Regions from separate parts of the Homo sapiens genome. Here all the other regions are linked to region 1. The links are contacts of gene promoters, found by promoter capture Hi-C in human tissues and cell types (Jung and others, 2019). All regions are on one chromosome and are shown on one strand. The core of a region is centred on a gene start or on the middle of the fragment in contact, and the rest is flanking DNA. Distances in the headings are between cores, read along the strand shown.

Region 1 (3,197 bases), core at 54-2,553:
GGGTCATTTACGGAGCCCCTCCCATGGGCTAGATTCTGATGGGCTGATACCATCTGGCTTAATCCCCACAATATTGTACTATGATCCTATGAACTATTCTTGATATAGAGGTGTTATTTGTCTTGGTTTTCACGCAATTGAAATCACTGAAGGCTCAGAGAGACAGTAAGTAAACTTGGGCAAGATCAAAGAACTACATGGCACAGAGAAGAGCCAAACCCCAGAGCTTCTGACAAAAAAAGCCTCCACACCGTGCCATTTTCCTCTGCCATCTCATTTCACCCAATGACAACGTGCCTGCAACCCTGGCTCCCTGCCCTGACTCTGAGGTTAATTTCCCTGCAGCTCGGAGCCCCGCCAAGGCTGGAGGAATATCCCACAGGCTCCAGTGAGCTGCAAAGCACAGTCACACTCCCAGGGCTATTAACAGCATCCGCTTCCTCTCCAAGGTTCAGGGAACTTTATCCACCAAGTGCCATGCAGGAAAAAAGAGGTCAGCCAGAGAGGAGAGGGTCACACGGGGCAATCACTAAATAAGGAGAAAGGCCGCACAGGAACTTGGCCCAATTTGGTGTCCTCAAAAGACGGTGCTCCCTGGCCAAGATTTTCCCTAACAAATATGGAAAAACAGTTTGAGGCCCATGCACGAAAATTGAAACTTGGTTCCTGTAGCTATTTGCTTGTGTAGCTACGTGACAAGCCTGGTGAGAAACGCTGGATTTCTCCCTCTTTCAGTTCTCTCCACCTGGCATCTGGGGGCCTAGTCCCAAAAAGTGAAAGGAACTGGAAAATAAACTTACTAAGATCCAGGAAATGATTTCAAAAAAAAACAGCCAACAAACCGAGGTGAGCAGGCGCAGTGGGTGGGTGTTATGAGACAGACAGCGGGGCTAGGAGATGCCCAGGATGAAGCCCGGAGACCTGCTCTCTGATTCCTCTTGGGTCTAGCTCATCACAGCCTGCTTCCCCACTCCCACTGCAACGTGACAGCAACAGCACATCTCACTTTCCAACATGCAGACAGCCCCCTGTGTTAACAGCACCGTCTCTGAAATCAGTGGAGCTGCATTTGACCCTACCTCCGTCAGGCCGTAGCTGTGAGTTTGGGAAAGGCGTTTGATCTTTCTGAGCCTCAGTGTCTTCATCTTCAAACGGGAAGGATAACATGTACATTGCTGGGCTGGACTAAAGATGGAAGGAGACATCATTAAGGGAAAGTTAGGGCCTTTGCTCCTTTCGCTCCCTCTACCATCTCTGTGTGGCATCCTCCTGCACTTCTTCAATTCCCTGCACAAGGGCCACCTTAACAGAGAGGCCCTTTCTGACCACCTATCTGAAAACGCAGTTCCTTTCACTCTCTGACCCTCTTCTCAGTTTGATTTTTTGGGTCACAGCTTCATTGCCATCTGGTAGATATTTATTTGTTTGTCTATAACATCACGCACACACACACACACACACACACAAAAGGAAGCTCCTTGAAGATAGTGCCTTTGTTTGTTTGTTCATTACTGTGTTGCTAATGCCAAAGTCACTGACATGTAGTCTACATGCAATAAATATATACTGATGTAATAAAAGGGTGGCTGCATGCTCCTGATTGTACGTTGGCAGCGTACTTAGTTTCCTTTCCATTTCTAGCTACCTGTTTTTAAGGAAATTTAAGGAAAAGGAAGTTCAACAATACTTACAGAAAAGTCAATCAATTTGGGTGTTGTCCATGCAATTACTGTCAACGGACTACAAGACTGACAATGCCTGCAGGAATGATGTCTTGTATATCTGGAGCAGCCTGCTCTCATGGCCTTGGGTGGGAGGCAAATTGAATTGATTTCTACATATAATTTCTTTTTCTTAGCTACAGAATTTAATTCTAAATTTCCCGGAAAGCTGTACTCTATCAGCTGTTTTCAAACTCTGTTCCACCAAGCCCTAGGTTTGCTTAGTTGCCAGGTAGCTGGGAAGAGGAAAGGACCTAGTATGTGGGGCTCTCAAAATCCCTGCTTCAACCAGCTAGTAAGTGACAGAGTCCAGATGAGAATCCAGCCCAGTCTGACTCCAGAGCCCACCATCTTTCCATCATACCACCTCCCCAGGGAGGGTGATATTCCTAAAATAAAATCTGATCAATTAACTGGGCGCTTCTCTCATTATTCCAGGACTTCAATACTGAGCAGATACAATCTGTTCCTCAAAGCTACTGACATATAGTCTGCCTATGATGGGAACAAATGGGAAACTGAGGTATAAGAAAATAAGTGGGAGGCTTCTCCAGCCATATATGTGACAGAGACCCCAGACCCAAACCAAGCCAGAGAGTCCACTATAGCAGACAGGAACCAAGGTGAGAATCAAGCTTTCTGAGCTTCTAGCTCTTAATCTCTAGGCAGCAATAATATCTATTCTTGTTGTCTCTCAGAACATTCTGTGAATTGATGAGATAGTGGATGTGCGGGTTCTTTGAAACTTTAAAGGTACACTCTGGTAAAACCTGCTTACTCTTTTGCTTCTATTGCTTATGGACTATGCGATGACCACAGAATTTCAATAAAGGGACAGCATGGGAATGGCCATCTGGTGGGACTCTGGGAATGGTCATGAAGCTGCCCTGGAATAACAAAAGCAAATTGATTTTGTTTAGATTGTAGGTTTGAGGTGGCTTGAGGAGGCAGATGGAGATGAAGGAGAACTAAAACCCCACAAAGTCCCTCGGCACCCCTACTCTATAAGAGCTTAAGCAAATCAGTTGAATTCTGTGTGCCTCCATTTTCTCACTTGAAAACTGAATTGATATTTAAAACCACAATGACTCTGTAAAAGAGCTTTTGGGCCGGGTGTGGTGGCTCATACCTGTAACCCCAGCACTTTGGGAGGCCGAGGTGGGTGGATCACTTGAGGTCAGGAGTTCGAGACCAGCCTGGCCAACATGGTGAAACCCTGTCTCTACTAAAAATACCAAAACTAGCCAGGCATGATGGCATACACATGGTAATCCCAGCTACTCAGGAGGCTGAGGCAGAATTGCTTGAACCCAGGAGGTGGAGGTTGCAGTGAGCCGATATCACACCACTGCACTCCAGCCTGGGTGACAGAATGAGACTCTGACTCAAAAATAAATAAAATAAATAATTTTTTTTAAAAAAAAAAAAGAGGTTTTGAACAACAAAAAATGAGATTACAAACTGGGAAAACTCTGA
Region 2 (3,381 bases), core at 297-2,796, 360 kb before region 1:
GGAACCTGGGGATGATGCTGCTGATCCTGCTGGACTCTCGTCTCCACACTTCCATGTACTTTTTCCTCAGTAACCTGTCTCTGGTGGACTTTTGCTACTCAGAAACTGTCACTCCAAAGATGATGGCTGGGTTGCTGATAGCTCACAAGGTCATCTCCTACAATGTATGTGCTGCTCAGATGTTCTTTTTTGCAGTCTTTGCTACTGTGGAAAGTTACTTCTTGACTTCAGTGGCCTATGATTGCTACAGAGTAATGTGTAAACCCCTACATTACACCACCACCATGACAACAAATGTGTGTGCTTCTCTGGCCATACATGCATGTCTTAGGTTTACTGACTGCTGCTGTTGACATTGGAGACATTTTATGTCCAATGAGATCCATCACTTTTTCTGTGATATTCTGGCAGTCATGACTCTGACTTGCTCTAATAAACATATTAATGAGTTGATCCTTGTTCCTACTTCAAGCTATATTTTTTACCCTCCTAGTTATCTTGATTTCCTGCTTGTTTGTATTTGTATTTGTCACCATTTTAAAGATGCTCTCTTTAAGTATACAAGAAGGTTTTATCTACCTATGGTTCTCACCTCACTGCAGTTCCTTTATTTTATGAGACTGTCCTCATCACATATGTGCAGCCAAGTTCTATCATTTCATGAACACAGAAAAAATTGTATCTGTGTTTCATATTATGGTTATCCCCATGCTAATCCCTGTGGTTTATAGCCTGAGAAACAACGAGGTCAAGAGTGCATTCAAGACTGTTTGTTGAGGAAACAAAATATTTTCTGGGTTTAGTCTTTTAATAATGTAAAATCCATAAAAAGTCATTCTATCCCTCTTAGATCCACCTTATGCAATAGCTTTCTGTATTATATTATATTATTATATTATTAATTTCTTTAGTTGAGAAATAGCTCTAAGCATGCGAAATAGAGAGAAATATGATACTGGTTTTAATAGAGTATAGTTTTTTATTGGCACATTTTATCTAAATATAAATAATTACAGTATCTTAATATTAATGTTTCAGTCATTATGTAGTGATTTGGTGAGAGAAAGCATATTCACATGACAACCTTGAAAAGATAGTCAAATTAGAATAAAAGCAGAGAAAATATTGTCATCTTTTACCTTACCCATATGACTACCAACTTCACATTTTGTTTTTTAAAAAAGCATTGATATTAATAATAATGCTATTCTCTTTTTTGGCAGTAAATGTTTTGAAATTGTTGTGCCACCATCGTTGCTTTGGTTGGGCCCACATCTCTAGGCATGCTCTTGTCTTAGGAGCTCTTTATTTGCTGTTTCCTCTGCTCAGAAAATTTCCATACTCATTTAATATTGTTGCTTAAATGTTAACCCACCCAGGCAGATCATGCCTTTCCTGAACTACTTCATAATATAGCCTCTCCCCTCCCATGGACCTTCTTTCCTCAGCCTACTTCATTCTTCAAAATCATTATCAACATTAAACTCCGGTATTATTTGTTCACCTGTTTATCATATCTTCGACTTGAATGGAAATTCCCTATGAGTGGTCACCTAATCTAGTTATTTTACTGTAACAAAGCTATGAGGCTTGAATTTAAAATTCTTGTATGGCACACATATACCTCTGTAACAAACCTGTGTGTTCTGCACATGTATCCCAAAACTTAAAGTAAAATTTTAAAAAAAAAATTTTAAACAAATTTACAAGAAAAAAACAAACAACCCCATCAAAAAGTGGGTGAAGGATATGAACAGACACTTCTCAAAAGAAGACATTTATGCAGCCAAAAAACACATGAAAAAATGCTCACCATCACTGGCCATCAGAGAAATGCAAATCAAAACCACAATGAGATACCATCTCACACCAGTTAGAATGGCAATCATTAAAAAGTCAGGAAACAACAGGTGCTGGAGAGGATGTGGAGAAGTAGGAACACTTTTACACTGTTGGTGGGACTGTAAACTTGCTCAACCATTGTGGAAGTCAGTGTGGCGATTCCTCAGGGATCTAGAACTTGAAATACCATTTGACCCAGCCATCCCATTACTGGGTATATACCCAAAGGACTATAAATCATGCTGCTATAAAGACACATGTACACGTATGTTTATTGCGGCACTATTCACAATAGCAAAGACTTGGAACCAACCCACATGTCCAACAATGATAGACTGGATTAAGAAAATGTGGCACATATACACCATGGAATACTATGCAGCCATAAAAAATGATGAGATCATGTCCTTTGTAGGGACATGGATGAAATTGGAAATCATCATTCTCAGTAAACTATCGCAAGGACAAAAAACCAAACACTACATGCTCTCACTCATAGGTGGGAATTGAACAATGAGAACACATGGACACAGGAAGGGGAACATCACACTCTGGGGCCTGTTGTGGGGTTGGGGGAAGGGGGAGGGAGAGCATTAGGAGATATACGTAATGCTAAATGACGAGTTAATGGGTGCAGCACACCAACATGGCACATGTATACATATGTAACAAACCTGCACATTGTGCACACGTACCCTAAAACTTAAAGTATAATAATAATAAAATAAAATAAAAAATTAAAATTAATAAAAAATTAAAAAAAAGAAATTCTCCAAACCATTTGCTTTTCACCTTGTAGCCAACTAAGGACTGACAAATGTACCTGAAGACCAATTATTGTTTCTACCCCTTCCAAAAGTCTTATCTTAATAAGATGGTTGCCAATGATTCACTGGTTCAGTATTTATTCCATTTTACTCAATGAGCTTACTGTCCCTTCTAACACACTTGCAATCCTGCTGAAGTAAAAATAATAGAAGATGGTTTCCTTGCTGCAAGTTTATTAATAAATTGCCTTTATTTTGTGCTAGACAGGATTTTGTGTTCAACACACTTCAGAAATGGTAATGAAGAATAATGGATAAGAAGAGAAATGCTGAAGAGATTACACCAGCAGCCAAGGAAAACAATGGAAAATGGAGTTTTCCCCAGAGAAAAAAATCAGGGTCTCATAAAAAAATATATATCATTACTTGGGTGAGGGACTTTCATAATGCCAATTCTGTAAGATTTTAAAACCAACCAGTGTGCCTCCCATTACTGTCTTGTATACATGGGGATGACTTTTTTCTGTGTGTGTGTGTGTGTGTGTGTGTGTGTGTGTGTCTGTGTATGTGTTTGCTAATTATCTTTACTCTGGTATGACTTTATGTATTGGATGTGAATGTAGAAGGAGCTAAATTTTCTTTTTGGTTCATAAATTGCTGAACCACAAGGAGCCACATCCTGATTATGTGGAGAAGACCATTTAACCTGAGGTTGAGCTTGTATGGTGACTAGTTGGGATTTAGGTGGTCTCTTTGGGGGAGGTAGATAATA
Region 3 (3,631 bases), core at 1,078-3,577, 310 kb before region 1:
CACTGTTCTAGAGGCTAGGAACTCCAAGATCCAAGGGGCTGACATTTGGTAAGGGGCTTCTTTCTGCATCATTTCATGATGAGAAAGCAAAGAGAAGGTAAGAGAGAACAAGAGGGGGAAAGCTCACCCCTGCAATAATGAACCCATTCCAGTGATAATGACATTAGTCTATTGATAGGGTACAGCCTTCATGACTTAAATATATCTGAAAGATCCCACCTTCCAATACCATCACAATGGCAATTAAATTTCAACCTGGGTTCTGGAGGAACAAATGCTCAAAACATAGCATATTTTCTCCATTGGTCTGTCTTTCCATCTTTCACAAAATTCAATTTATTATCTACCTGTGGATCAATTTCTGTATCCCGTAATCAATTCCATTGATTTATGTGCATACCTTTTGCTCAATACCATATTGTATTGACTTCTATTATAAAGGTAAGACATGAAACCAGGTCATGTACATGCTTCAGCTTTGTTCTTTTATAATTATTTTGTCTATTCTGCTAGGTTTGCTGTTATGCAAAAAGTTATAACCAGTTTGTCAGTATTTACCCAAAAAAAAGCTCACTTGAGTTTCAGTTGAGATCATATAAAGTCTGGAAAATAGTCATCTTGAAGTCTGCCGATCCATGAATATAACATATCTTTATGCTCATTTAGATGTTTTATTTTTAACTGGTGTTCTGTACTTTTGGCATTTTTAAGACAAATATCTTAAATATGTTCATAGAGCTAAAGGAAGTCTTGAACAAAGAACTAAATGAAACCAAGAAAACAATGTATCAAAAAGTTTCTAAAAATTAATAAAGGGAGAGTAATTATAAAATATTACCATAATAGAAATTGTGGAACAGTAACCAATAAGAGATTAAGTATACCATGAAAAGTAATGGCTCAGATTGCCTGATTTAAAAATATTAATATCTTTTATGCTATCAAACTACTGTCATTTTCATTGCCACATGAGAGTAGGAGCACAGCTTATGAGGAGGGGTAGAAGGTATCTCATTTTGTGAATTAAGAAGATATGGCCATGGCAAATCTATACCCAGCTCTTTATGAACAGACCTAGGATTATAATTGATCTTGTGTTTTGCAGTACAATTTTATCCACATGCCTGCATATCTGAATTTCTAGATGAAAAACAGTCATTTCTTGCTGCTTTATACCTAGAAGTATATATAAGAGAGTGGGCAGTGCATTGGCTTCTTGGTATTTTAGTGGAATACAGAAATTAGTTATTTTTCAAAAATAACTTTAATTAGATGAACATTTTATATGTTTTATCACAGTGTGGCAACTCACAGAAGAAGAAAATTCATGTAGGGTGCTCTGGCACATTCTGAACATTTTCATGGTGATTTCATAACATATTATAGAGATATTAATTATATCACTTATTACTGTTTGGGTGCTTATTTACAGAGCTTATTGGCTCTGCCCCCATAATAAGTAATCACGTTATTCACTTTTTAATAACAGTGATTAACACAGAAACTGTTATAAAGTCAGAATTCAGTTCTCCTTAAATGTATTAGGTCAAAGAGATTCAAGCTATGCCTTCTGTGTTAGAGCTGGGAAAACTTTATATTTTAATTCTGAGCACATGGTAGAACATATTTATTATAAAGTGATCACAAGTTCTAAAGCTTTGCATATGTGCAAATCTATCTAGGAGGAGAATGAGTACTTAGTCTGAAGCAAACATTACACTAAGTATTCTATATAATCTATTTTATTTTATTCATCTATTATAAAGGGAGAAAAATATTATTTTTTCAATTGTACAGATGAGGAAAGTAATACATAGAAAAGTTAATTAATGTGACACAGAATTTTGGAAAGATGGTTAAGATTGTGCACTTTAGATGGAGTCTAATCTCATTTAAGAGTTGGAAACAAATGAAACAAAAATAGCAATGTGAAATATGAAAAGAAAACCAATAAGATAACATAAAAAATATACATTCACAACAGTTTTATACAATTTTTGATTGAGGGGATAAATATTAAACTAGACAAAGTTAAATTGAGAAATATAGTTCAAAATACAGTTCAGAGAGCAAAGAGATAGAAAATACAAAAAAGAATTTAAGTCAGGATGTAGAGATGCCAGCAAGATGGCAGAGTAGAAATGCCCAACTTTGTCTTCCACAGAAACACCAATTTGCCATGATGTGTGGATCAAAATAACTTTACGGGAAGTGCAGAATCTAGTTAAATAGTTGCAGTACCCCCAGACAAGTACAAAACTAAGAACAGTCACATTGAAACATGTAAAAAGAGCAATTTCACTTTACCATATCAGCTCTTTTTTCAAGTTGTCACAGCTCGGCACCAACTGAGAGATTGCCTCAGTCTAAAATTTTCTCTCGGAGGGAGAAGAAAGTGGGGCATATATTCAATCTTCTAGTCTTTCAGCATGCTGCCAAAGCCAGTTTGTAAAGACTGGGAAAGGGGACTTTTTATTCAAACACAGACACCAAGGCAAAGCTACAAGAAACACAAAGAATCAGGAAACCATGACACAATCAAAGGAATGAAATACATGTCCAGTAATGAAATGTAATATAAGGTTATTCTTTGTTGCCTCAGTGGCTCTAAAGTAGTTGCATTCTCTCTGCTTGTTTTAAACTTTTACCTAGTCATTGTCCACTACCAAGCACTCATCTCTCAACATATGTGGCCAGGCAATAAGTCATATGATGACCTTTCCATTTGATGTCTTCCTTTCCCTGTTTTGACCTAGTTACATTTAAATTAACCAACAAAAATACTGCCTTCATGCTATGGCTGCACCACCTATGACTACCCCCAATAAAAATGCTCACCCATGAGTCATCTCCTCTGTCTGTTTTCCTGACAACCAAGCTCAACCCACAGCTTTTGGTGAATTATGTGACCCTCTGGTAATACTGTGCCTCTTCTTTAAGACCTGTGAGTATAATAAAATTTTAAGTTTTTATGTTTCTCTCAGTGCTTTTGATCTGTGTAGAAGTGATCCTTGAAGGACCCCAACAAGGGTGCTTAGCCCTGTTTACACAATACTGACCCTAATGTAATGGAGATCTATAACTTTCTTGTCAAAAAAGATAATGATCTTAGAGGAGCTAAGTGAATTAGAACACAGATGATAAAAGAAAATCAGGGAAATGATACAGGAACAAAATAAGAATATAACAAAAAGTAATGATAAAAAGGAAACACATAGAAATTCTAAACCTGAAGAAAAAAATAACTGAACTGAAAAATTTATTAGAGGGATTAAACAGAAGACTTCATCAAGCAGAGGAAAGAATCATTAAACTTATAGACGACTCACTTGAAATTATACAGTCAGAGAAAAAAACAAGGAATAAAAAAGTGAAGGAAGCCTAAGGGAATTAGGATGCAAAATCAATTGAAACGATATACATGTTATGGGAGTTTCAAGGACTCAACAGATAGAGAAAAGAGCAAAAGATTTATTTAAATATATCATGGCCCCAAATTCCCAAATCTGGGGGAAAAAATGAATATCCACATTTATGAAGCCCAAAGGACCTCAAACAGGATTACCCAAAGACACATTATAATCAAATTGTCAAAAGCCAAGGACAAAGAGAGAATTTTGAAAGCAGCAAG
Region 4 (3,533 bases), core at 550-3,049, 380 kb before region 1:
CTGTGTGCAAAAGGATGAATCTGTCTCCTTTTTTGGAAAAGAAAAGCATTCCCAGGCCAGAATTGTGGTGATAAGGTAGATAAGTGTTAAGAAAATCGGTAAGGAGATATCTTAGAGAAAAATCAAAAAAAGTAAAATAAAAATTAAATTAAAAAATTTTTAAATATAAAATGCTGATACAGAGGTGAGACAATTTGAACGAACTGCTAGTGGGAATTCAAAATAGTAGAATATCTTCAGAAAAGATGTTGACAGTTTCTTATTCAGATAAACATGTGCTTACCATAGAACAATTCAATCTGACTCATAAATATTTATTCAAATGAAATGAAAATCTATGTTCACCTCAGAAACTTTTTTTTTGAGACAGAGTCTCACTCTGTAGCCAAGGCTGGAGTACAGAGGCGCAATCTTGGCTCATTGCAGCCTCCGCCTCTGCCTCCGCCTCTGCCTCCCGGGTTCAAGCAATTCTCCTGCCCCAGCCTCCTGAGTAGCTGGGATTACAGGTGCCCGCCACCATCCCTGGCTAATTTTTGTATTTTCAGTAGAGAATGAGCTTCACCATGTTGACCAGGCTGGTCTTCAACTACTTACCTCAAGTGATCCACCCCGCTCGGCATCCCAAAGTGCTAGGATTACAGGCATGAGCCACAGTGCCTCACCCAGAAATCTTTAATGAAATGTTTAGATCAGCTTTATTTCTACTCACCAAACACTAAAACCAATACAAATGTTCCTCAGTTGCACAATGAGAAAAACAATCTGTAATGTCCACATAATGCAATATTCTTCTACAATAAAAAAGATTTAACTCTGACATAGGCAACAATATATATGGGTCTCAATTGCTAAGTGAAAGTGAAAGATGCCAGACTCAAAGACTACATATTCTAGGATTATATTTAAAGACATTCTAGCAAAAGCAAAATTATTTGGACAAAAACAATTTACTTGTTGCCAGGGTAGCGGGTGGGAAAAGAGGTTACCAAAAAGTCGGCTTAGAAAATTTTTTTTATGTAATTGTTGCAGTCATTATGTGACCATGTATTTGACAAAATTCTTAGAACTGTACAGTAAAGTGTGTATTAATACTGGGTATTACTGTATGTAAATTATGCATTAATTAGAGAATGAAAAAAATAAATTTAATATGCACACAAATTATGTGCACATATTAAAAATAATAAGCTTGATCCCCACCGGCAGCTTTAATTGCTTCTTCACCAGGAAAGTAGAATGAGGAGCTGTAGATCCTCTCACAGGGGACATCTCCAGAGATCTCCATGCCCTTATAATTCTCCTCATGTCTCCATATATTAGCATCTAAAATCCCAACATGACTCCCAACATGATGTAGTTTTAGAGAGACCACACTGTGTACAAAGCTCTGCAGATCATAATTTATTCATCTAAAGGATAATTGTTTTTAGTTCATGCATGCCTTCTGACCTGAGGCTTTGCTATGAAGCTTCAACCCTGCTCAGGGAAAACATCCCGAGTTAAAAATTACATTGACTGATTTTTGCATGATGGCCCCTTAGCAAGATGTTTTACAGGCCTCCCTTACTTGTTCTTTACAGATGCAATTCTGTGAATTATGTGAGAGAGGTAATCTTAACATGTTTATTTTCTCAAGAAAGGGGAAGATAAGTAATTCCTTTAAGTTCACAGAAAGAATTAATAGTAGATTCAGGACTTTTTCCGTGTTAATGCTCTTCCCTTTATTTCTCCATGCCTAAGAGACCTTGAAACCTGTTGACCACTATCTGAAAGCAAGCTTCTCCAAACATATTAATGCAATGTTCCATGGCTGATTTTCTGATTGCAGAACAACTATTCTGTATTGACTGTTTCTGCTCATCCAGCTGTAAGGTAAGCTTCTATATCTAAGAAACATTTTAGAGACAAGTGTAACTCATGCAAAAGCAGTGGGGCAGCTATACCTACTATAAGCTATTTGAGAGCAGAAATAGATGTTTTCAACATTTTTTCTAAAATACTGAGGTGGGCATAGGGCATAAATGTTCCATTATAGGAAATTTAGTGGTTCTTATGAAATGTGCTTCTTCCTCCAAAGATATGAACAAAAAATAAGATAGATGATGCTCTGACTGACTAGGTGGTAATTTTATCTGTTTGTTATATATTGGTTTCTCATGAGTGGTAAAAAAAAAAACCAAAAACAAACAAAAACAAGTGAAATGTTCATTCTTTAAACTACAAAAAGGTGTTAAATGAATTAACGAGCTATGACCTGTGTTTTAACTTTTTTTATAATCTCATTACTATTAGCGCATCTACCTATGTTGACAGTGATGTGGCTGAAAGTTTTGACTTTTGATTAGATTGAAGATGGATTTAACTCTTGAACCTTGACTCTCAAACTAGTCATATAATTTTGGAGCATCATATCACTTCTCAAATTGTCAATGTTCTTAACGATAAAGTAATAATACTATCTAACTCTCTCTCTCTTTCTCTCTCACACACACACATGCGCACACACGCATATACACACACATTATTTATATATAAAGTTTTTATTATTGGTTGTAGAACATAGTGTATGCTAAATGCGGTCAGGTATGTTAAAGTTAGCAACATAACACCTTCATAGGTCAGGCTTGGGAAGTGAAGTTGCCAAGTGTTTAAAAGAAAGACAGTAGGAAACAGTAGTTAGTATTGGTTGGACACCCTTCTCCAGGCCCCAATCCAAATACACAGACTTAAAGTATTATTCCTGATTTCATTCTTTTTTTCATGGCTGTGTAGTATTCCATGGTGTATATGTACCACATCTTCTTTATCCAGTCTACCACTGACGGGCACCAGGGCTGATTCTATGCTTTCATTGTTGTGAATAGCGTGCTGATGATCATACAGGTACATGTGTCTTTTTAAAAAAAAAGTCCAACTTTTAAGTTCAGGGCTACGTGTGCAGGATGTGCAGGTTTATTACATAGCTAAGATGTGCCATGGTGATTAGCTGTACAGATCATCCCATCACCTAGGTATTAAGCCCAGCATCCATTAGCTTTTCTTCCTGATGCTCTCCCTCCTCCTACCCACCATCCTCTGACAGGCCCCAGTGTGTGTTGTTCTCTACCATGTGTCCATGTGGTTTCATCGTTCAGCTCCCACTTAAAAGTGAGAGCATGCAGTATTTGATTTTCTGTTTCTGCATTAGTTTGCTGAGGATAATGGCTTCCAGATCCATCTATGTCCCTGCAAAGGAGATGATCTCGTTCTTTTTTATGGCTGCATAGTATTCCATGGTGTATATGTACCACATTTTCTTTATCCAGTCTATCATTGATGGGCATTTAGGTTGACCATATGTATTTGTCTTTTTAGTAAAATGACTTATTACCTTTTGAGTATATACTGGGTCAAATAGTAATCTGTACACTAGATTTATGGAATACTACATAGCCCTAAAAAATGAAATCATGTCCTTTGCAGCAACGTGGATGAATCTGGAGGCCATAATCTTAAGCAAAGTAACACAAGAACAGAAAACCAAATAACTCATG

Evidence for each region. The method cuts DNA at HindIII sites, captures the fragments that hold promoters and counts their contacts. A contact is called where the count stands out against the background at its distance.
Region 2: a fragment that was not itself captured here is called in contact with the fragment with the promoter of OR9Q1 in region 1 in 1 of the 25 tissues and cell types used here (aorta).
Region 3: a fragment that was not itself captured here is called in contact with the fragment with the promoter of OR9Q1 in region 1 in 1 of the 25 tissues and cell types used here (thymus).
Region 4: a contact is called between the fragment with the promoter of OR5B3 here and the fragment with the promoter of OR9Q1 in region 1, in 1 of the 25 tissues and cell types used here (IMR-90 fibroblasts).

Annotation. Positions count from the first base shown.
Region 1 is chr11:58,021,987-58,025,183 of GRCh38, reverse strand. It overlaps OR9Q1 (olfactory receptor family 9 subfamily Q member 1), which reads right to left and starts at 1,303. Exons shown (of 3, transcript NM_001005212.4): 1 at 1,080-1,303. LOC107984331 (a long non-coding RNA gene) reads left to right here and starts at 765. Exons shown (of 3, transcript XR_001748218.1): 1 at 765-1,097; 2 at 2,160-2,344. The HindIII fragment of the contact is 7,062 bases long and covers 1-3,197 here.
Region 2 is chr11:58,384,976-58,388,356 of GRCh38, reverse strand. It overlaps the pseudogene OR5B15P. Among named protein-coding and RNA genes, the nearest start is that of OR5B3, 20 kb to the left of the region's middle. The HindIII fragment of the contact is 5,532 bases long and covers 1-3,381 here.
Region 3 is chr11:58,334,101-58,337,731 of GRCh38, reverse strand. No RefSeq gene overlaps it. Among named protein-coding and RNA genes, the nearest start is that of OR5B17, 23 kb to the left of the region's middle. The HindIII fragment of the contact is 8,330 bases long and covers 1-3,631 here.
Region 4 is chr11:58,405,140-58,408,672 of GRCh38, reverse strand. It overlaps OR5B3 (olfactory receptor family 5 subfamily B member 3), which reads left to right and starts at 1,799. Exons shown (of 2, transcript NM_001005469.2): 1 at 1,799-1,872. The HindIII fragment of the contact is 8,045 bases long and covers 1,624-3,533 here.